4 separate regions of the Homo sapiens genome follow, and regions 1, 3 and 4 are each linked to region 2. The links are contacts of gene promoters, found by promoter capture Hi-C in blood cells and fetal thymus (Javierre and others, 2016). All regions are on one chromosome and are shown on one strand. The core of a region is centred on a gene start or on the middle of the fragment in contact, and the rest is flanking DNA. Distances in the headings are between cores, read along the strand shown. Region 1 overlaps PIKFYVE (phosphoinositide kinase, FYVE-type zinc finger containing). Region 2 holds the start of CYP20A1 (cytochrome P450 family 20 subfamily A member 1). Region 3 holds the start of IDH1 (isocitrate dehydrogenase (NADP(+)) 1). Region 4 holds the start of KANSL1L (KAT8 regulatory NSL complex subunit 1 like).

Region 1 (5,802 bases), core at 2,672-5,171, 5.0 Mb before region 2:
AAAGAGCTTAAAACAGAACTGCTACCATTTGATTCAGGAATCCCACTACTGGGTATATATCCAAAGGAAAATAAATCATTCTATCAAAAGGCACATGTACTCGTATGTTCATTGTAACACTTTTTATAATAGCAAATACAGAATCAACCTGGGTGCCACCAATGGTGAAATGGATAAAGAAAATGTGGTACATATACACCATGGAATACTATGCAGCCATAAAAAAAGAACAAAATTATGTCCTTTGCAGCAATATGGATGCAGCTGGAGGCCATTATCCTAAGTAAATTAACACAGAACAGAAAACCAAATGCCGCAAGCTCTCACTTACAAGTGGGAGCTAAACACTGAGTACATGAGGACATAAAGATGGCAACAATAGACAAGGGGACTACTAGAGCAGGGAGGGAGGAAGAGGAGCAAGGTTTGAAAAACTAACTACTGGATACCATACTCACTACCTGGGTGACAGGATCAGTCATATGCAAAATCTCAGCATCACTAAATATACCCCTGTAACAAACATGAATCTAAAATAAAAGTTGAAATTATTACCAAAAAAAAAAAGAAATACAAGTAATTTTCAAACAAAAAAGCTGTTGTAAAAGCTAATGGGGTTCTGGGTGACAGATAATGGGATTCTGAACTCTGTAGTAGTTTAGGTGGAAAAAAAAATGAGCAGACAGAAAGATCTTCACAATAACAAAAATAACATGAGAGAGATGTTAGGAGTTTTGTTTTTCAGGTAATTTCTGACTATCTTCTACTCCCAAATCACTGTATAAATCAACATACCATTGTTCAGTTTTTTCTGTTTCAAGAAATAACTTAAATTTTCTGTACTGCTGAAATTTGACTATGTTCCTTATGGAGGAATCTGAGTAAGACACAATTCACTGCCAAAGCACAGTGTCATGTAATTACGTCAAGGAAGATCTGTCCTTTTAAAATGAAAACTCTCATAGTGATTTAAATTAGTAATCTACTCTAACGATCTTGTCTAATAAATTTTAATGTTCCTATAGTTTTTTGCTAGCATCTACAATAAATACACTTTTACTCTAGTTATTTATGATAAGTCCCATCTACTGTATTATTCAATAGGAAAGTTCTTAAAAGCAAAGCTGTCTCCCTCACCTTTGTGTCCCCATGTCTTACACATAAAACCCAAAATGAAAATTGGCTTAACACTATCCTGTATTATAAGTGTCTTATAGTTATGACCTTTAAAAATTGTAAACTGGCAATAAAATGCATTTACCTGTATAGCCCATAAATTTTCCAGGGATTTCTTGATTACAGCAACGACTGCAGAAAATCTGCCCACATAGTCGGCAATGGTGTCTGCGCCTAAAGGTTGTAAATTTCTCACTACAGTCATAGCACTCTTTACATTGGCTATCTGGCATCCAGTATTGTTTCAGGTCACTATCCTATAACAATAAAAATGTGTGAAGGCTTCTTGAAAATACTGATTATTAATATGCAATGGCAAATGAAATCCTCAAAGGTTTCTTTTGCAGAAAACAAACTAATTCAAAAATTCATATGGGAATACGAAAGGTCAAAATAACCAAGACAATCTTGAAGAAGAACAAATTGAAGGACTTAATATTACCAGCCATCAAGACTTATTCTTAATGCTACAATAATTTTAGACAGGGTACTGGTACAAGGATAGAAAAAAATAAAGGTATGGAACAGAAAAAGAGAGCCCTGACACACCCTCACACATATATGGACTTACGGTGGAATTTATAATGCAATCAGTGAAAGATGGTCTTTTCAAAAACAATGGTACTATATCCAACTGGACATCCATGAGGAAAAATGGAAGCCTGACCCCTATACTTGACAGAAATAATAAAGCTTCTTGAAGAAACCATAGGAGAATATCTACTGCCCTGAACTAGATAAACACTTCTTAAACAGAACGCGAAAAGCACTAAGGATAACGGGAAAAAAACTGATAAATTAGACTACAATAAAATTAAGAACTTATGTATAAAAATAGGGTGCTCACAGCTGGAGGAAGCGCTAATTAAGCTTTCTTTCAGTGGCATTAAGCCATTTTCATTAGGTATGGCATGATCCCCATAAGCGCTTAATAAGTAATCTTCCAAAGCCTCTAGACAGTACCTGGCTTTTCCCCTCCATGATTTCCTTGAGGCGTTTTAATACTGTGCTGAGGCTTCGAAGCTGAACAGCTGTACGAGGGTCATGACCTCCAAAGGTAGGTTCTGCTTTCCTTCTTGTGTCTGAGTTGGATTAAAAAAAAAGCAACCTTGTTAACAGTCCCTAGTATCTATATACAACAAGGTATATATGTGATGGAAACTGCCTCTTATTGTTGGCATATAATTATGTTCTCCCACCCGGTTATATGAATTGAGAGTTAAAACAAGTCTTTATAAGGGTAAGAGGCTACTGAAAGTATTTCTTCTCATGTAAAATGCTGTTTTACAAGCGAGTCAAGGCTGCCTAAGACAAGCATTGTCTGAGACCATTGATGGTTTTCAGGCCTGGAATGGGAACATCACTTAAATGGTCCAAAATTCATTAATGACTCCTTAAGCCCTTTGGTCCAACCTATAATAAATGCATGCTAGAAATTTAGCAGAAGAAAAAGCAATCAAGGAGGGTTAACTTAGCTTGGTCTCTAAAGTCAAACAGGTAAGCAATAGGATCAAACAGTTCAGTTCTGTCTATATCTGTAGACCATATATCCAAAGTCTCATACAGAAGATGATCAGAAAGAAGTTTAATAGCCCAGCCTTCAAAGATTCTGACAGACTTCACAACATCCAGGATGGCAAATTTTGCCATGGTAAAACCTGACCTATGTCCAAGCAAATTAAAACTGCCAGAAAATTGCTAAAACTCCAATCCTATCCTTCCCTGTCACTTCCCCAACCCCACAGCTCCAAATAGGAAAGGATCATTTATACCTGACATAGCAATACTGAAGCCAAATCTATCACTAATAAGCCCAAATTCCAGCCTCATGGCCAAAATAGGGTATGCCCACCAAAGTTGTCACTTATTATTTCCTTAATTTAGACCAAAATTACAACTGAAGTTTCTGCCTATTTCTGGCAGTTACAAAACCTAAGCATGAAGCAAAGACGTTTTGACAAAAAGGATGAACATCCTATTAGCTTAAACCCATCAAACTGATAACCTATGGCAAAGTAAACTGGAAAATACCCCACTCTGAATCTTCCTCAAACTCACCATTTGCTAGATAGGTGCTGTTTTGGCTGGGAGGGAAAAAAAAGAATTACAAAGAAATGAGAGGTTGGGATCTAAAGTTTACAAAGAATTTCCCAAGATAATGTAATCACTGAAGTAACTACCAAAATTGTACCTATTTTAGAAAACTTTGGCAACTTTTATCTTTCTATAAAGTTATATCTTAATTTTAGCACATACCTCAGATGTGTTGCTACTGTATTAGAATAACTAAACTTGAGTCTCAAAACAAAAAACAACTCCCCATGATCTACAAATTGAAAAAGAAGACAGATGAAGCTACTGGAAACATAATGGCTGTGCTTCCGTGCAGCAGGCAAAAACTTGTGAAGTCCCTGGCATTTAGCCAATTAGGAATATAAGAAAGTAGTAATAGCATCATCCGCTGAAAAAGGATGAGTGAGACCCTTCTTGGAACCAAGAGAATCACAGATGTTGGCTGAAGATGAAAGAAACCCAGAGAGAAAATCTGGTCTAGCTCTATGCCCTTAGGCAAATAGCCTTAGCTGCTTCTCTTGCAAAATGAACATTAGAAAATTAAATAACTTTCCTAAGGTCGGAAAGCTAGTAAATTATAGAATTACAGCCCTTTTAATAGGGAAAAGAACTTGACTGGCCAAATAACACCAGGCTTCTGAAGCTCAAATGCCTTCAAGATAGAATCAAATAATCAAGCAGACTTGAGAAGGACAGTAAGGAAACTAGACAGTAAAGGCTCCACCTGGAGATATTAAAGTTCAAGTTGATCATAATACCAATGGCAAGGTTTGGCAGGCTGCCAATTTGTAACTCCTAAAATATTACATTTTAGTCTAACTTGATTTTAGAAATAAAAAAATCCTACACTCAATTCAGCATGGGATTTAGTCAAAACAGCTCCCTCAACAAAAAGAGTGTTGTTGTGAGTCAGATTCAAGAGCTAAGGAGAGTTTATTGAGGTTAAAAGTTAAAATAGAGATTATCTGGAATAAAAGGAGAGCTCCTTTCTTTCTCCCTCTCCCACTCCCCATCTTCTGATTCTTCCCTCCAAATGGCTGATGTAACCCTGGCTGAGGCTCACTGCCCTAGAAAACCTGTGCAGGTGATGCAGCCAGCTCTGTGCCAGTCCTCGGGTAGAAACTCTACTTTTGCTCAGTTTCTCTTTGTTCTGGCTGACCAAGTCTGAACTCACAATAAAATATCCTTCTGCCAACCACCACTATCTGGGGGAAGATCAGCCACACCAGACGAGATCTGGTGTTCTGGGGCATCTAATTCCCAATGCTGCATCCCTTCCCCTCTATCATGCCACCTCCCACTTCCTTTGTCACCTTGACTTAGGCAAACCACTCCAAGTTGAAAAATCTGACAGAAATAAAACATAAACCACCTCTCTTTTTCTAATCTCTCAATTCTGACACCAATCCCCAGCCCATACTCATCAGAAGAGCATGAAAATGAAGGAGATGACTGTGTAGTAGACCAGAATGGAAAACAGACAGATGAGAGGAGCTCAGCTTATTCAGCCACACTGACAGTTTGCACCCCAACAAGGACAGAAGGCCAAGAGCAAGTGGCAGCCCAATAATGGAGTTGACAGAGTTCTGCAGCCAGAGGCATGCATATCACATTTCACTAGCACCCCAAGAACAGATGCAGAATTCATTCACAAAGTGGAAACTAACCTGTGTTCTCCTGGGGATGTTGCAAACTGTTGTCTGCTGAAACCCAAGCAAGTAATTAATCAAAAAATAGTCAAGAAATCTGTGCCTTGCCTAAATTAAAGTTTAATGAGACGTTTAAGAATTTTTTCAGGTGTCAATAAATTCTTTCACTACCGAGGTAAGAGTTTTATTTACTCTAAACAGTACCTGACTATTTCAAATAGTATCTTACTATTCCAAATAGCAGGAAAGTTAAGTCCTGCTATAAACAACCTAGGAAACACAATGACTGTGGAAAAATCTAGCATATAGAAGGGAATGAAATAAGAACACTGTTTTACCTAATGCTGAAGAGCGCCGCTGGAGTTCCTCATTAAGCTGCTTTTTATAAGGTGTGGGTGACCTAACAGACTGTGTCCTCGAAGGGAGCTGAGGGCTGGTCCAACTTCCACTCAAAGGCTGCTGTTCTCCCTGGCCTCCTTCTGCTCTCTCTGTAGCAAGGGAACGCTTGGCATTATTTAAAGACTGAGAGTTCAGCAATGAGAAGGAAGTAGATGAAAATTTTCAGGCAACAATGTATGCATGTATTATATGCGTAACTAAAAATTTTTTTTTTCCTTTTTCATTTATTTAATTTTAAATACAAGCAGGTTCTCCCTATGTTGCCCAGGCTGGTACTGAACTCCTGGCCTCAAGCAATCCTCCCACCTCAGCCTTCCAAAGTGCTGAAATTACAGGCACAGGCCACTGTGCCCAGCCTAGATTTTAAAAAAAGAAAATTCAAAGAAGGAGGCAAAATTACAGGCCAATAATCACACCCTTGGTATATATGATCTCCTATTTGTTTCACTTTTCATTAGAAATTTCTTGAGCATACTAAAGGAAACAAAATGCAAGCTTCATATGA
Region 2 (5,614 bases), core at 2,315-4,814:
TCCTGAGTTCAAGCAATCCTCCCACCTCAGCCTCCCGAAGTGCTGGGATTATAGGCTTGAGTCACCGTGCTGGCCATAAGCTTCTTACATCATCAGTTTCTCCTTTATGACTTGACAGCCCTCATCAGCATAATGTAATTTCTCCTACCTTAAGAGAAATTCACCTCACTTCCTTCTCTAGTTATCAGCCCCCTTTACTGCAAAACTCTAAAGAGCTATCTATACTTGATATCTCTGAATCCACACCATTTAGGTTTATCACCCCAATTACACTGAAACCGCTCTTCTTAAGATTACAAATGTTGCGGTGGCTCATGCCTGTAATCCCAGATCTTTGGAAGGCTGAGGCAGGAGGATCACTTCAGCCCAGAAGTTCGAGACCAGCCTGGGCAACAAAGCAGGACCCCATTTCTATAAAAAATTAAAAAATTAAAAAATTAGGTTGGGCACGGTGGCTCATGCCTGTAATCCCAGTGCTTTGGGAGGCCAAGGTGGGCAGATCACTTGAGGTCAGGAGTTCGAAACCAGCCTGGCCAACACGGTGAAATCTTGTCTCTACTAAAAATAAAAAAATTAGCTGTGTGTGGTGATGTGTGCCTGCAGTCCCAGCTACTTGGGAGGCTGAGGCAGAAGAATCGCTTGAACCTGGGAGGCAGAGGCTGCAGTGAGCAGAGATCATGCCACTGCACTCCAGCCTGGGCGACAGAGCGAGACTTTGTATCAAAAAATAAAAAATAAAAAATTTAAAAATTAGCCAGGTGTGGTGGCATGAGCATGTAGTCCCAGCAACTTGAGAGGCTAAGGTGCGAGGATCGCCTGGGGCCAGGAGTTTGAGGTTACAATGAGCTATGATGGTACCACTGCACTGTAGCCTGGGCAAGAGTGAGACTCTGTCTCTTAAATGAAACAAAACAAAAAATAAAGATTACCAATGTTATCAAATTATTAGGCCTTAACTTAAAATATCTGCAGCATTTGACTTAGCTGATTATCCTCTTCTGCTTAAAACATCTGGCTTCCTTCTATTTGTGTGGCTGCTCCTTCTCAGTCTCCTTTGCTGGCTCTTCTTTCTCTCCTCAACCATTAACATTGGAGAATCCAGGGAATGGTCCCTGGGACCTCTTCTCTCCTGTATCTAAATTGTCTGGGAGATAGCAACCAGTTCTCCTCGCTTTAAATACCATCTATACATTGATAGCTCCCAAATGTGTATCTTCAGCCTGGACTTTTCCCATAAACTCAAGACATATATTCAGTTACTCCTCAACATCTCCACTTGAATGTCTAACAGGCATCTCAAACCTAGCCCACCCAAAACCAACTCCTAATCTCTATAAATCCCCACTACCTCCCACCAAAACAAAACTAAAGAACAACCACCACCAGCAAAACCCCTGATCTTCCCTGGAATTAATCTATCCTTCCAGATACCAGGCTAAAAATAACTGGTGTTTTCCTTGATGCCTCTCTTTCACATTTCACATCCAATCCACTGGGAAATCCCATTGGCACTATCTTCACAATTGACTAGTTCTCATTATCTGTGCCACTACTACCATGATCCAAGCTGAAATGATAATATCCTCCTAATTACTTGGCTTGCTTCCATCCTTACCTGGAGACCCATGTCAATTCATGACTTAGCAACCACAATGATTCTTTTAAAATTTATCTAATAAAATTAAATTTGAATTCTATCCAATTTCAAATGGCATTCATCTGCTGAAATCCTCCAGTGGCACACAGCAAAAGTCCATTAAAAAAGCCTTACAAGTCATTTAAAATTTGTCCTTCACTCCCATCTTTCTGACTTTCTCTCCTCTGGTATCTTCCTCATTTACTACACTCTAACCACACTGGTCCCCTTGCTTTCCAGGAACACACCAGGCGTGTCTCCCTCTGAAGGTTTGCATTTGCTGCTCCCTCGACCCAGAATGCTCTTTCTCAGAATGGCTTGCACCTTCACCTTCTTCGCGTTTCTACTCAAATGTCTCCGTATCTCCTGGCCATCCTACTTTAAAATAACAATCTACCTATCCCCAACTTTATTTCTACCCACAATCCTATGTTATTTGTTTCTATTGTCTGTTCCCCTTCTCTAGGAAATAAATTCCAAGAGTCAGGAATTTTCTGTCCGGTTTGTTTCACGGCTGGATTCCCAGCACGTGGAACCATATCTGGCACATAGCTAGTGCTAAGAATAAACAGTGTGCTTCTATGAGCTGATCAAAGAAGAGTATCATTTTAAAATCACCAAAAATTCAAGAACCACTAAAATTGTTTAGTTTCTCAGAAAATAAGATTTCAGGAAGTCCCTGATTGTGTAGTTGCAAGATTCTAGTCTAATCCATTTACCTGCTCGGAAAAGAACATTTAAGAAGGTGTATGGTCAATTCCAGCAGTTCAGCTACTTTTCAACTTTCACTGTAAAACCACCACCTTGCTTTGTAGAACAGGTGTTTTTTGTTTGTTTGTTTGTTTGTTTTGAGATAAGAGTCTGGCTCTGTCGCCAGGCTGCAGTGCAGTGGTGCGATCTTGGCTCACTGCAAGCTCCGCCTCCCAGGTTCAAGCGATTCTCCTGCCTCAGCCTCCTGAGTAGCTGGGATTACAGGCGCCCGCCACCACAGCCAGCTAATGTTTGTATTTTTAGTAGAGACGGTGTGTCACCATGTTGGCCAGGATGGTCTCGATATCCTGACCTCGTGATCCGCCCGCCTCAGCCTCCCAAAGTGTGTAGAACAGGTTTTAAAGACGGTCCTCAGTCATCAACACTTTTGTTTTCAGACCCTCCCTCTCTCGCTGACGGAGGCAAGTGGAGAGAGGAGGACCGGAGGCTCGCAGAGGCGTCAGCGGCAGAGGAAACCTCGCACCCGAACCCGCAGCGCGGCGCTCTCCCCAAAGAAGCATTTGCCTGGAGCCCCTAAGAGGAGCAAGACCTGGACCTCGAGCACTTTGGATTCCAGTCAGGATAGATCGATGGACAGATGGAAAAGAGGAATACACAAGTGCTGGGAGAATCCTCAAGAAAGGAGAAAGGAGTGGCGCGCCCAGGAGTCTCGTCCTGACACACTGGGAAATGAAATTTGGGTTTGGCGAGTTATGGCCAAAAAGCTGCCCAAAGTACTTGAGAGCCGCCTTGGAGAGTGGCGCGGGGTGCCTGGCAAGGTGAGACCGGCCTGCGGGGGCGCGGGCTTTTCCTCAGCAGCTCTACGCCCGCCTGGCCCGGCGCCTGAGGGGTAGCGACGCAGCCCACGTCGCTCTCAGAGCTTGCCGGGAGGGGCGTCACGTGACTCCGGGTGCGGTCCCCGCGCTGAAGCTCTGGAGCGAACCCGAACCCTCCTCTCAGGCCCGCCCCCTGCGGCCCGCAGCGGGCAGGTTGGCCTGGATGCCGGCGACAGAGAGACTGGGGCGGCGCCCGGGGCCCCAGAGAGCCAAGACGGCGCTCACCGGATAGAGGTAGAGCACGGCTCCCACCAACGCCAGCAAGAAGGTAACGGCGAAGATCGCGAAGTCCAACATGGTTCTGCCGCCCAGGGAGCCACGTCTCGGATCGGCCGCTCCAGCAGCAGCGCCTCAGCCTGGCCCAATTTAAGGCATAGCGTGTGGGCGGGGGCACCCCGCGGGACCCGGAAACCAACGGGCCGCTGGGGGCGTGACCGAGGCCTGCGGCCGGCGCCAGAGGAAAGAGCAATGGATCGCCGAGGAGCCGGGGCGCGGGTTCCTGAGCGCAGCAGGCCGAGGCTGAGGCCGCCTAGCGCCAGCCTCCACCGCAAGGCGGGGATTTCGGTGCACACGATTTCAGACAGAATATGCCCGCGACTTCGGACCGGGTTGCTGGCGAAAGCAGAGCCCAGCTTTCTGAGAAAAGTTAGGAGTTAGTAGTGCTCTGTCCGCCCAACAGTTTTCGCAATGGATTCAGAATTAAAACCTCTAAACCGATGATTTTCGAAGAGTGGTCCCGGTACCAGCTGCATCAACGTCGCCCGGGAGCTCGTTAGAGATTCAGATTATCGATGCCGGGCGCGGTGGCTCCACCTGTAATCCCAGCACCTTGGGAGGCTGAAGCGGGAGGATCGCTTGAGCCCAGGAGTTTGAGACCAGCGTGGGCAACATAGTGAGACCCCAGTCTCTACAAAAAAAAAAAAAAAAAAAAAAAAAAAATTAGCCTACAGTGGTGGCGCTTGCCTGTGGCCCCAGCTGCTCCGGAGGCTGAGGCTGGAGGATCACTTTAGCCGGGGAGGCAGAGGCTACAGTGAGCCGAGATGGCACGACTGCACTCCAGCCTGGGCGACAGGGCGAGACCCTGTCTCAAAAACAAAACAAAACAAAACAAAAGGAAAACAAAATAAAAAGATTCTCGATCCCAAACTAGACCTACTGAATCAAACACTCGGGGTGGGCAGGGGTAGGGGGCGCGTACAACAATCTGTTTGAACAGAGCCCTCCCGGGGACACTGTTACACACTTAAATTTGAGTGAAAACCACCACTGATCTAAGCGGGACAGGGAAGTGTCTGGGAGTAAAACAAGAGTAGATACGCCTTGTTTCGCAGAATTTCTGTCTGAAGTACTAGTAAATGTGATTCTTTGACACTTTCTGGTGAGCGGAGGCTGCACACTGTTCAGGTTTCCTTGCTCTGTTAACTCTGACTTTCGGTAAATTGCTTCAGTTTTCTAAGCTTCCATTTCCTTCTATGTAAAAAAGTGAAAATAATACCACATGGAGTTGCCTGTAGGTTAAATTACATATTTTATGAAAATCACTTAGCACAGCTCCTGGCAAAACCGAATAAGTGCTATCTACGTCAGCATTTGGCGTTTGTTGCCCTGGGCATAAAATACCCTAGGACCCCTCTTTCTATTTCGCCTGGCTCAGAAGTTTTGACGTGGCTACTGAAATACAAGACAAGGCCTGCTACTTACTAGTGCTGCTTTTAGTGAAAGTGTGCTAAAAGTATTTATAGATTTTATAGCTTTAATAATATAAAATGTCAAGAACAGGCAGCAATTTGGCAAGAGAAATTCCAGATTGCATTTTACAGCTTCTATGATAAATGACTGTTACATAAGCAGGAAACATACCTCATTGAAAATGGCAACTCTTTTGGCATCTATAGCAAATATAATGAAACATGCTGTTTAATATTTCACTTGGCAGAAATTGTATTTTTAAGTCTTTCTCTGCATATAAATGTGCTTTAAACTGTCGTATGTTCAAAGTTCATTTTTAAGTCTCTTGTTCAGAATTTTAAAGATATTTCTTGTCAAACTGATGTTCCCAATAGGTTTTCAAAACAGTAAATGTAAGAGTTTTTTGTTTGTTTGTTTTGTTTGTTTGTTTTTGAGACGTAGTCTCCCTCTGTAGCCCAGGCTAGAGTGCAGTGACGGGATCTCGGCTCACTGCAACCTCCGCCTCCCAGGTTCAAGCAATTCTCCTGCCTCACCCTCCCGAGTAGCTGGGATTACAGGCACGCGCCACCATGCCCAGCTAATTTTTGTATTTTTAGTAGAGATGGGTTTCACCATGTTGGCCAGGCTGGTCTTTAACTCCTGACCTCGTGATTCGCCCCTCTGGGCCTCCCAAAGTGCTGAGATTACAAGCGTGAACCACCCC
Region 3 (5,446 bases), core at 1-2,500, 5.0 Mb before region 2:
ACTTGAACCCAGGAGGCGGAAGTTGCAGTGAGCCGAGACTGCACCAGCCTGTCAGGGCAAGACTCTGTCTCATAAATAAATAAATAAATAAATAAATATTGGAGCATTAAATTCTGGGCAGCAATATACAAGCATGCTATTGTCCTACAAATCACAATATAAAATACTCTTTATTTTCATGTTTTTGAGAGCAATGAACACACAAAATATAATCTCTGGAGGAGACTAAAATTCTTTTTTCAATCCACCGTTTTCTAAGGCTTCACATCTCTAGTCCAACTTCATTGGATCACAGATAATCCCCCGCCAACTGAGCATGGTGGCTCACGCTTGTAATCCCAGGACTTTGGGAGGCCGAGGAGGGCCAATCACTTGAGTCCAGGAGTTCGAGACCAGCCTGGGCTGCTGAAACCCATCTCTACCAAAGGAAAAAGAAAAGAAAAGAAAGAAAGAAAAATTAGTTGAGTGTGATTGTGTGCACCTGTAATCCCAGCTACTCGGAAGGCTGAGGTGGGAGGATCTCTTGAGCCCAGGAAGTCAAGGCTGCAGTGAGCGGTGATCGCTCCACTGCACTCCAGCCAGGGCAACAGAGCAAGGCCCTGTCTTAAAAAAGAAAATAATAAGAATCCCATTCATTATCTTCTAATGCAAACAATCAATGGAGTTTCTAAAGACCTAGACATAGGTGGTGTCAGGACCTGCTTCTGTAACTTTTCCATCCTTTGCATTAGGCAGCGCGGAACCCCCTAGGCGACCCCGCGCTGGCCGGGAGCACTCTTTCTTCAGCCAAAGGTACGTTCCATTACCGCCCCTCGGGGGCGCGCTAGGCAGCGGGCCGGCCAAGCTGCCGCCGCCCAGGGCGCCCTGTCCCGTTCGCTTTTGTGCCGACCTGGAAACACTCTGTGGTGCTCTAGATTGTTACAAAGTTCGGGGTGGTGCAGCCCCAGCGCGCCCCGCTCCCCGGCCTGCAGGTGGCATACAAGTCTCTTCGCTGTCGGGATTCGGGACTGAATCTCTGCCGGGCGGCAACCCCTTCCCCCACCGGGATCACCGGGAAAGTGGCACCATGGATTCTCCATCTTTGACTGTGGCCACGCCCCTCTCGCTGACTCCGCCCATCCCACGGGAATTGGCGTGTGGCGATTGGAGGCGTGTCGGGGGCGGGGCTGGGGGAGGTGGGCTGAGGAGGCGGGGCCTGGGAGGGGACAAAGCCGGGAAGAGGAAAAGCTCGGACCTACCCTGTGGTCCCGGGTTTCTGCAGAGTCTACTTCAGAAGCGGAGGCACTGGGAGTCCGGTTTGGGATTGCCAGGCTGTGGTTGTGAGTCTGAGCTTGTGAGCGGCTGTGGCGCCCCAACTCTTCGCCAGCATATCATCCCGGCAGGTAACCTCAGGCTCCAAGGGGCGGCCCCGGTCCCTGGCTGTGGAGGGGTGGCTCTAATTCCGCAGAAGGCAGGAATGGGGTAAAGGAAAAAAGCGCAGATCTTGGGTGTGGAGGGAGTCAAGGCCTGCGTGCAAAGAAGGGAACAAATCCAGGTATTGAGAATGGGAAAAGAAAAGGGAAGGAGGGGATGCTGGATGCTTGGATATGCAGAAGGTCTGCTTTTGGGCCTGGGAGGGAGAAACTGGGCGGTGAGGAAGTTGGATGCAACGACAAGGGGAAAATCAGGTCTGCACTTGGGTTGGAAAATCGAGGGGTGGAAGTTGCAAGAATGCATGTAGAAGACTAAGCCTGGAGTGTAGGAGGAAGAAAACGTGCAGCAGCTGGGGGCTGGATGCAAAGAAGGCTGTAAGCCGCAGACGGGCGTCTGCAGGCAACTCAGGCGGCGAGGAATAGCCTTGAAGCCGATCCCTCGCGTCCGCCAGGGGGCGTGGAGGGGCGGAGCTCCAGCGGCCTTCAGAGGGGTCGCTAGGCCACACGGGGCGAGAGGGGGCTGGGGGAAACACCCCCGCCAGTTCCGGGTGCCTGGAGTTTAAAAGGTCCCAGCACCAGCGAGGGGAGGGGAGGGGAGGGGCGGGCGTGGAGACCTGGAAGGAGGTACCGATCCAGCCTTGATTGCAGCCCTCTTGCACAACGGCCATAAGGACGGGTGCAGGCCAAGAGCAAGGACATGCAAACCCCAAGACCTGCTAACGGGCGGCGAAGCGGGGGCACGCCCTCGCACACGCAGAGATAAATTGTGCTCCCATGACCTTTATTTGGAAAGTGCCTGCGGGCCTAAAATTGGCCTTTGTCCCACCGAGTACACTCAGCACTGTACTTTAAACCGGATAAACTGGGCTGTCTGGCAGGTACTAAAAACAGCTAAATTCTCCTGTGAGTGTTCTGTATGTTAACACTTTTATTCCTTGTTTTGTTTTAGGCGATAAACTACATTCAGTTGAGTCTGCAAGACTGGGAGGAACTGGGGTGATAAGAAATCTATTCACTGTCAAGGTGAGAATTAGCAAATTTTCCCCCTTCTTCTGTACTTTCTTTGATGTGGCAGTACAGTGTTTAACTGGTCTTGGGGGCAGGCCGAGGCACTGCAAGGGAATGAGTGAGGAATATTTCCAACAACGAATTCCAACAGCTTCCTTGTTTCTTTTAATACAGTGTCTTATCTGCAAGAGATCCTTTTTGCCCAGAAATTATTGTAGTTCATGAACTCGGCAAAAAACAATCTGGCCAAAAACTTGAGGTTGATGAAAATAATATTAAATGGCTCTTTTTTTTCATTAAACTACTCTGTATTGTTATTCCAGGTTTATTTTCTGGAATTGCACAATTATGTTAGGAGATAGGATTCAGCTACTTCATATGAGCTGGTGCCTGCTGGTCTTGGAACAGCCCTTCCTTCTGAAGTTGGGATTGGGTTGGAGACAAAATCTGAGGGGCAACAAAGGTGGAGAAGTCAGTCCAGTGGGGCCTCAAGCCCATCCCATGGAAATCAGATCCAGAAGAAATACAATTATGTTCCACATGGTAGTAACAATAAAGCTTCACTGTTTTAGTTAAAAGATGGTAAAAATTTCATGGCTAAGTAATGTGAGGAAAACCTGAAGCGTCTGAAGTATGCATTATGAGATAAAGAAAGATTACTGCAGAGAGTACAGTTGCTTTAACTGAGAAGGAAATAGTGAACTAAAAAGATATCAGTCTTCACATTTTAGGTACAATATTTGACCTCTATTAACTGTATTTGCCATCAAGAATAAATTGCCATGTCATGACTGTTGCATCATACTATATAGGGACATGGCCATGGAAGTGTATTATCAGGAACCAGATAAGTTCACTGCCTCCTTTTTTGCTTTGTTTTAAAACAAGGATAGGTGTGACAGTGGAATCAAACATGAACTGAATCATATGCTTTCAGCTGTACTACAAATTATACTTGACATTACAAATGGGAAGTAATTGACTCATCCACACCATTCTGTTCATTTCTTTTAGTCTAGTTCAGTTCCAGAAGGTTCCCCCAAAGGAATCTCCTAAACACTAGTAAGAAGAATTCTAGAATTGCGAATTTGGGAAGTGAAAATGGGCCTGGGGATTGGAAATACATCCAGGCTTGTCAAGAAACAGACGCTTACTGTCTACTAATCATTACATTTTTATTTAAAGACCAAATTACTTTAGCTCAATTTTTCAAGAAAGACTATTTTAGGCTTCTTATCTAATAATTCTTTAAAGTCAATTCTCTTGACTTTTTTAGTCCTTAAGAGAATAAAAGCAATTTGCAGCTGTGTTGTTGGATTAAAAAAGAGTTTCGATTAGAGCATCATTAGAAGGAATAGATAACTTTTAGCAGGCTCAGAGCTTCTTCTGCCTCTAGGGACAAGCTGGGACAGTTTCATTTCTTCCAAAGCGTCCAACCTTGCACTTTCTGAGAATCAGATTGATTTGTATATGCTACCCCCACACCCTATCCTTAAAGTGCTGTCTTCCTAGGACAATGCACAGTTTGTCCTATCCCACTCACTAGCAGCTTACCCTTGCCTGTGAACAGCCAGAAGAAGATGACAGGGACATGCTTGGGTCCTGGGCAGTGGCCCTACTGTATAGAGATTCTTCTAATTGAGAAATCACTTTGTTGTATTTAGCCCCACATCTCCAATGTCTGTGTTATCTCTAGGAAAACAGTTCCACCAGGAATTCTTCGTCTCGCTTTTAGACTTAAAGTTTCCCTGAATATGGGTCACAGGAACCAGCTGAATCTCCTCATGGCTAGTTATTTTTATTAAATAACAAAAACAGCCTCTTAAAGGAGGAGAAATGCTAGCACTCACCATTCTGGACATCTTGAGAGCCCAGTAAAATGATGAGTTGGACTGAAGTGTTCAATAAACATGAGATTGTGGAAATAATCTCATTTCTTAAGACAAACCAGTAGTTGAGAATAATGATTGCATTATGAAGGGCACGTTATAGGGTCAGGCTCTGCCACGCTCTAGCTAGGTGGCCTTGGGAAAGCTCTTTTTTTTTTAACAAAGTAAAATGGGGAAATGATGGCCATTTTTTTGGATTGTTATGAGGGCTAGCTCAGAAACCGCGTGTGAAACATAACACAATACTTTGTTCAGAGAAGATACTCAATTCTAATGGTAAATAGAATTGCTGTTACTAGCTTTTTATTCAACTACACATAAATTGAATTGCATGAATTGTTCTTTTAGTAGTCACTACGTTGTTTATATAAACACTACGTTGTTTATATATTTCACTTTATAATGAAATAAATGACAAGGCATGTATTTTTTTTTTCTTTTTAGGTTTATTGAAGTCAAAATGTCCAAAAAAATCAGTGGCGGTTCTGTGGTAGAGATGCAAGGAGATGAAATGACACGAATCATTTGGGAATTGATTAAAGAGAAACTCATTTTTCCCTACGTGGAATTGGATCTACATAGGTAAATGAGTTACCCCTCCGTGTAGCAAACTCAGAAAGGATAATCTGGCTGGGCATGGTGGTGCACACGTGAAGTCCCAGCTACTTAGGAGGCAGAGGCAGGAGGATCCCTCAAGACCAGGAATTCAAGTCCAGCCTGGGCAACAGAGTGAGACCCCATCACTTTAAAAAAAAAAGGAAAAAAAAGGGAAGGAGAAACAGGAAAAAAAAAAAGAATATAATCTGAATTATTTTGAGGTGAAGTTAGCTTTTTTTATATAGATATAGCTGTGTTTTGTGAATAAAGTTTGTTTTAAGCCTAAATATATTCAGATGAATCTTCTAATTTTAACATACTGCTAGAAAAACTGGATTTATCATCTAAAAGTCAAGAATTATAAGGGAAAGAATGATTTTCAGATTCTTCTAACCTTCTGTTTCCTGTGAAGGTTTTATTTGTAATAAAACAGTGGCTAAGAATAGTACAATGTATTGAGAAAAGGGAAATAAGAGAGGATGTAAGAAACAGTAAACTAAATGCAGTTAACACAATTTTGTCATTTCAAACTCAATTTTC
Region 4 (6,291 bases), core at 2,501-5,000, 6.9 Mb before region 2:
AAAAGAAGAATTAAATATACTGGAATATAACAGTGGGGGACAGTTTCTCAGGGCATAGAAATGTGGAGAAATAAATAGGACAACCTCGAATAGAGTAGGGTAGGGTAGGGTAGGGTAGGGTGGGGTGGGGTGGGGTGGGGTGGCGTGGCATGGCGTGGCGTGGCATGGCGTGGAATGGAATGGAATAGAATAGAATAGAATAGAATAGAATAGAATAGAATAGAATAGAATAGAATAGGATAGGATAGAATAGAATAGAATAGGATAGAATAGAATAGAATAGAATAGGCTTTCTATTCTGTGAGAGGTAGTGAGGAAAGAACTCTGGCTTTGGACCCAGTCAGGTCTGTCTTCGAAATGGGCCATTTATTAGCATAAGAATCTAGGTACATTAATCTCACTGAGCTTCATATTTTTTTCACCTGGAAAATGAATATAACATTCACTTTCTGGGATGTGAAAATTAATTTATCCAGACATTAAATATGCATTGAGAATCCACATGTGTCAGGCCCTGTCCTAGGCTCTAGGGATACAGCAATGAGCGAACCAGCAAAAGTGCCTGACTTCATGGAGCTTATGGTCTAATTTAGGGCGATAGACTACAAAAGTAAAAAAATCAAAATCTATGTTACATTACATGCTGATAAGTGCAATGGAGAAAAACAAAGTAACAAAGGGGGATAGAAAAGCCCCTTCTTGGCTGTGAGTTGCTTGAAATTAAAGATTGATCTTTCTCCTTTATCTCTAGCATTTATCACAGTGTCAGCTATACTAAGTGTTGCATGAATGTTTCTTGAGTGAAAGGAATGACTGAATAAAAACCAGTGTTGAAGAGAGAAGTTTATCTCATGAAATCATTGTAATACTGCTTACCTGGACATTTTTTAAAGCTTCCAGATAGGTAATTATTATGTCAGCAAGAATGGTGCCCTTTACTTCTCCTTGTTCTTGCTGGATTTTAAAGTGTTCTATTCTTACCACTGTTATATTTTTTCTTGGAAATCAGAATGCTTTTAATGTACCTTCTAAATGATATGTCCTTGATTTTAAAAAAACATTAACTACATGCACTTTTCAGGCTGTTGCTGAGTAATATAGAAAATAATTTGACAAATGATTCAGTATATCAATTTTTGTAATAAGGAGAACTGATATTCTATAGTGTCTGGAAAACTCGCATGTATATGCTACAAATAATAAAATCATGCTTTAGAACAATATTCAGTGTCAAGGGATAGTGTGCTTAACATGTAGCTAAATGGGATAAAAAACCAGTATGCACAGTGTCATACATATAAAATACAACAGACTTTGCATATGATTGTGGTTTTCTTCTTTGTGCTTTCCTATATATTTTATATCAAACCTGTATTATTTTGTTAATCATCTCCCCACATTCCTATTAAACCGAATATAAAATAGGGAAAATGTACATGTATGATAGCTTGATAGATTGAAATATTTATTTAAGGTCTGTAACATTTAGCAGGCGGCAGGGCTGACTAGAAGATAAAAGAATTAATCTGGAGCGGCCGGGTGTTGTGGCTCACGCCTGTAATCCCAGCATTTTGGGAGGCCGAGGCGGGCAGATCACCAGGTCAGGAGATCTAGACCATCCTGGCTAACATAGTGAAACTCCGTCTCTACTAAAAATACAAAAAAAAAAAAAAAAAATTAGCCGGTCTTGGTGGCGGGCGCCTGTAGTCCCAGCTACTCGGGAGGCTGAGGCAGGAGAATGGCATGAACCCGGGAGGCGGAGCTTGCAGTGAGGCGAGATCGCACCACTGCACTCCAGCCTGGGAGACAGTGTGAGACTCCGTCTCAAAAAAAAAAAAAAAATTAATCTAGAGTATTGGAAACAGCCTACCTCCCACGGCTATGTGATGAACAAATTACATAATATATGTAGAAATGCTGTATGAATCACTATTTGTGTAGTTACAAAGCTTAATCCCTTTGTCATCCTCTATAAACTCCATGAGGACAGGGAATTTGTTTACTAATATATCTTCATTAGCCATCACAAAACATGTGTTCAATAAACATTTGGCAAATATATAAATATTTTGTTTGGTAGCAAAAAATTATTTCACAGGAGAAAACTACCATTAAATGATTTGATGTCTCTACAGTTCCTTCAGGTTAAAATCTGAATTCCTGTCATTCAAGATTTACTCAATCTAGTTGACAATGTACTTTTCTGCCCCCCAAATATTCACACAACATCTCCTCAAACCACCCAAGGACACTATCTCCTGAACTATTGATGCCTTCCTCCTCTCTCTTAAGTCTTTTAAACGTCCAACTCAAATCCAGAATCTTCCTTTGATCTATCTTAACACATGCTTATTAGATGTCTCAAACTGCTAATTAAAAAAACAAAACTTTAAAAAATACTTTATTCATTTTTGCATTTCTGTCCCCAGGGACTAGGACAGTCCTTTGAATATGGTAAATATCCAATAAATACTTACTGATTTAATTATTTTTCACAACACATCATTAGCTTACAATTTTTATTACAATGAAAGTAAATCAATTTCCTAAAATTCTTCCCTTGCCCCATATCGAGGTGCAATTATTCAGTAATTAAAAAAATATAGCTCCAATAAATGCAGCTGGTCATAAAAATTATTTCAGTAATATCACAATCTACTAGAAGAACCAGGAACGAGTAGCTAATTTTCCAATTCCAGTTATCTATGTTACGGATTACGCTTTGTTATGACTGCAATTCCTTGGATTTCTCCCCTCTTCCGCCCCCGGGATCTTATCCAATTGATAAGGTTAAAATAATGGCTATTATCCTTCTGGCTTAAAAAGCCTAGTGCTCTTCGTTCCTTAAATCATTTCATGTGTAAATTCGGTGCTTAGGAAAGACTGTGATACAACATCTAAGAAGCTACATTTAGAGTTCAGTTTTAAAAAAATCGAGTTCTTGGCTGGGGAAGTGCCCAGGTGCAGGTTTGTTTTGTGGTGAGCGGTTCGCGGGGCCAGGTGCAAGACGCTCAGAAGTGTTTTTGGGTGTCGCTGGCCAACTATCTCCACATAAACTCCGTTTGTTTATTTGACAGCGTTACTGCAGAGGGGAGTTAGGTCCAGCGCCACTCAAACCAGATTTGTAGAGACTTAAAACTGCTTTGTCTGTTTTTTTTTTTTTAATCATAAAACCACCCAGTTGGATCCAAGGCAAATTTGTCACCTACTTCAGGGCCCCTCTGAGGGTCAGAAAGAATTATGAGCGCATTTGAACGCACGGCCCAAATAAAAGCAAACGCACGGAGACTTGCGGACTTGACAATTGTGAGAAATCTCTTAAAACTCGCCTGTGGAGCGGCGGGCGAAAGCCGCGGACGCCAGCAGTAGTCGAGGCCCCGGCGCGGACGGCAGGGAATGAAGTCGCCTGACTTTTCCTCAGGGTTTTGTTTTTCTGTCACGGAGGTACAAAAATAGCAAAGCAGGGGTGGGAAGTCTCCTGGCCGTGTTTTTTTTTTTCCCCCTCGCCAGGGATGGCACTGGGAAAGAGAAGGGAGGAAGCAGGAGCTGCACGGAACCCGTCCCGAGGGAGCCGAGGTAAACCCTGCACCAGAGTTAAGGGAGTCGTGCTCCTGCCACTTCCAGAACACTCCGAGCCGCTTCTGCAGGCCCCGCCCCCTGCCGGGGTTTCCCCGCCACCCGCTTCATTTGCATGGCGCTGCCCCTCCCCCGTTGCCATTGGCTAGCGCCGGGCCCCGCCCACTGCTCCCAGACCGCGGCAGGGTTCCGTCCCCCCGAGCCGCACGGAGCTGCGGGCAGCGGGCGGACTGTTAAACCGCGGCGGCGGCGGCGGCGGCGGCGGCGGCGGCGGCGGCGGCGGCGGCCGGGGCGGGAGCGGGGCGCGCTCTGGAGACGAGTCAGCGGCGCCCCGGGTGGGGGAGGCGGGCGGGCAGCTAGAGATCACCTCAGCAGCCCCCACCACGGCCGGACCGAAGGTGCGGCGGCGGAGGGGAGCCAGGGCGCCCCAGCAGGCGAGTGGCCGGCGTCTCAGCGGCGGGATGACGGGGGTGGGTCTTCCCTCTTGGGGACGGCGGCAGCGCGGGGAGGGGAGAAGACTGCCGGGTGGACTTGCGGGTCAGGCGACCGACCGGCAGCCCCTTCGCCCCCCGAATCCTCTGGGCTGCTGGACTCTGGTCTCGGCACGGGATCGCGCTCTAGGGCGGGGGTCTGACCGCAGCCAAATTTAAACGGCTAAACCTAACAGCCTTGGCAGCTGGGGAGGGAAGGGGTCTAGGGAGGGGTGGGGGCGGACCTGGACGCCGGTCACGTGGGGGGTGGGGCTTGGCAGACCTCCCTTTTGTTTTGGCTGGCGCGTGCGCAGAAGGCAGAACACGTGGTTTCCTGGACCCGCCTCTTGCCTCATCGGCTGAGCCTCACCCATTGGGGGTGTGGTGACGGCTCTTTTGAGGCGGCTCTGAGGCGGAGCCCACTGGATTTGATGAGACCCCTATTTTATTTATTTCACACTTTCTTTCAGGAAAACGTAGATTTGGGCTTTAGAGTTAGATGGGATAGAGCAGAATCTAGGGGATTTTTGAGGGACGGTGCTTCCAAGTTTGTGTCACCGGTGTGCTGAGGAAGGGACCGGTCTTGCTGGAAAAAGTCAGATTGCGTGGTGTTTGGTAGCAAGAAATACCAGGCGGTATCCTGGCCGTTTCAGAAACCACAGGAAAGGAAAGAGGCTGGCTTTGCAGTCGGGAGGGCAGGCACTGGATGGACGTTCTTGTAATGTTTTCTTACTCTGGGAGAGTCCGTTTTTGTTTGTTTTTTTGTTTGAACTGTGGTAAGCACATTCCGTTTTTGATTCCCCAAACTTCAGGACATTCATGTTCTGGCGAGGTTTAGGAGACAAACTTCCTTCGTCTTTAGCCAGTTTGCTTAACTTCATCTGAGTTTGGGTCAGTAATAATTTTAAATATTGCTGGATGGGGCAGGTTTGTTAGCCACAAAACCTAAGTGAAGTGAGCACTGCAGACAAAACTGGCAATTTCTGACTAGGAAAAAATGACTCTAAAAATAATTCAGTATTGAGAAAGAGGCTTAACAGTGAGTGGTCTCTGCCTTTCCCGTTCTTAATAACTAGCCATTTCTTTGGGTTAGTCACCTCTCTGATGTCAAACTTGTTTCGTTTTTGTAAAGTTTCATAATATGGTCTCTGTCTTAAGAGATTGTAAGAAAGAAGAAATGCCTTGTATTAGGAAAAGTGATTCCTAATCTCTACCAATTGCCAAGTAGTGTTATTTTTATAACAAAAGTGAATTTTTTAAAAGCCCACATGTTGGGGAAATATAAACAATGAATTAATCATGAAATAGAATATATTTGAGTATCTTTAAAATCTGTTGTAACCATTATCTTTGGTTCTCCCTCAGTTTCCACCTACTTAGATCAGTGTCAGCGTCTGCAACCATTTCCTCATGGTTTTAATCTACATAGATTATTCTCTCCCGCAAACTGTCTGGAGTAATTTTTTATGTGAAACTTCTTAATCCAGGCCAATTCTCTCACATTGACTTTTAACATTTACATTTTAATTTTGTTTCATGATGCGCCTTTGCAAATAACAATCGATTATTTTGTTAAATCTTATTATTATAAAGTAATTGGAAAATAGATGAGTGCAAATAAGAAAACTATAAATATTTTGTACTTTAAATATTTCTGTCTGCATATATGTGTATTTTTCCTAAAACTGAGACCACATGGTATTTTCATTTAACTCAGACATTCGCATATCATTATTCTTTGAAAAATATTTTTAATAGCTGCTTAACATTTCGCCATGTAACTATCATATTTTAAATTTTTTCTGTTGGCACGTATGTGGGATGTTTCTGGTTTTGCTAGTGTATATTTCACTACAGACAATATCCTTTTACATAAACCTTTGAAATTTCCCCCCCTTAGATTTGTAGAAGAGGAATTACTGGGCCAAAGAGTCTGTTTTTGTTGTTTGTTTGTGTGTGTGTTTTTTAAGGCTCTTATGTCATCACCAAATTACAGAATGTTGTATTGATTTACAGTGATCTAGTGGTATGTGTGTGCCTCCCATTATGTCTTTGTTTATCACCTAGTATTAGGCTTTAAAACTAAAAACCTTGCTTTAATTTGCATTTTAAATTTTTTCACTCTAATCTGTGATGTATCTTTTATTTTTTAACTTATTGTAAAGTGCTTGAGAGAAAGAAATATATTTCATGTTTGACATGCTGCAGATCACTTAGTGGGTGCTCAATAAATACTTGCCAGTGG

The links. The method cuts DNA at HindIII sites, captures the fragments that hold promoters and counts their contacts. A CHiCAGO score of 5 or more calls a contact.
Region 1: a contact is called between a fragment that was not itself captured here and the fragment with the promoter of CYP20A1 in region 2, in 2 of 17 cell types (monocytes and neutrophils). The highest score is 16.3, in monocytes.
Region 3: the fragment with the promoter of IDH1 here is called in contact with the fragment with the promoter of CYP20A1 in region 2 in 4 of 17 cell types (monocytes, neutrophils, naive CD8 T cells and 1 more); the score reaches 12.6 in monocytes.
Region 4: the fragment with the promoter of KANSL1L here is called in contact with the fragment with the promoter of CYP20A1 in region 2 in 1 of 17 cell types (neutrophils); the score reaches 8.3 in neutrophils.

What each region holds. Positions count from the first base shown.
Region 1 is chr2:208,273,168-208,278,969 of GRCh38, reverse strand. It overlaps PIKFYVE (phosphoinositide kinase, FYVE-type zinc finger containing), which reads right to left. Exons shown (of 42, transcript NM_015040.4): 3 at 5,237-5,386; 4 at 2,140-2,258; 5 at 1,262-1,433. Among named protein-coding and RNA genes, the nearest start is that of PIKFYVE, 9.8 kb to the right of the region's middle. The HindIII fragment of the contact is 3,746 bases long and covers 2,049-5,794 here.
Region 2 is chr2:203,236,968-203,242,581 of GRCh38, reverse strand. It overlaps CYP20A1 (cytochrome P450 family 20 subfamily A member 1), which reads right to left and starts at 3,564. Exons shown (of 13, transcript NM_177538.3): 1 at 3,448-3,564. The coding sequence starts at 3,519. RefSeq lists enhancers at 2,844-3,133, 2,957-3,528, 3,814-3,863 and a silencer at 3,534-3,743. The HindIII fragment of the contact is 4,599 bases long and covers 83-4,681 here.
Region 3 is chr2:208,250,875-208,256,320 of GRCh38, reverse strand. IDH1 (isocitrate dehydrogenase (NADP(+)) 1) reads left to right here and starts at 1,250. Exons shown (of 10, transcript NM_005896.4): 1 at 1,250-1,382; 2 at 2,362-2,435; 3 at 4,754-4,891. The coding sequence starts at 4,770. It overlaps IDH1-AS1 (IDH1 antisense RNA 1), which reads right to left and starts at 1,088. Exons shown (of 2, transcript NR_046452.1): 1 at 890-1,088; 2 at 127-418. RefSeq lists an enhancer at 1,016-1,542 and a silencer at 1,996-2,105. The HindIII fragment of the contact is 4,060 bases long and covers 1-2,980 here.
Region 4 is chr2:210,168,868-210,175,158 of GRCh38, reverse strand. It overlaps KANSL1L (KAT8 regulatory NSL complex subunit 1 like), which reads left to right and starts at 3,750. Exons shown (of 15, transcript NM_152519.4): 1 at 3,750-4,010. RefSeq lists enhancers at 2,821-3,454, 3,455-4,090, 4,484-4,663, 4,091-4,725 and silencers at 3,534-3,863, 3,984-4,293. The HindIII fragment of the contact is 7,802 bases long and covers 1,952-6,291 here.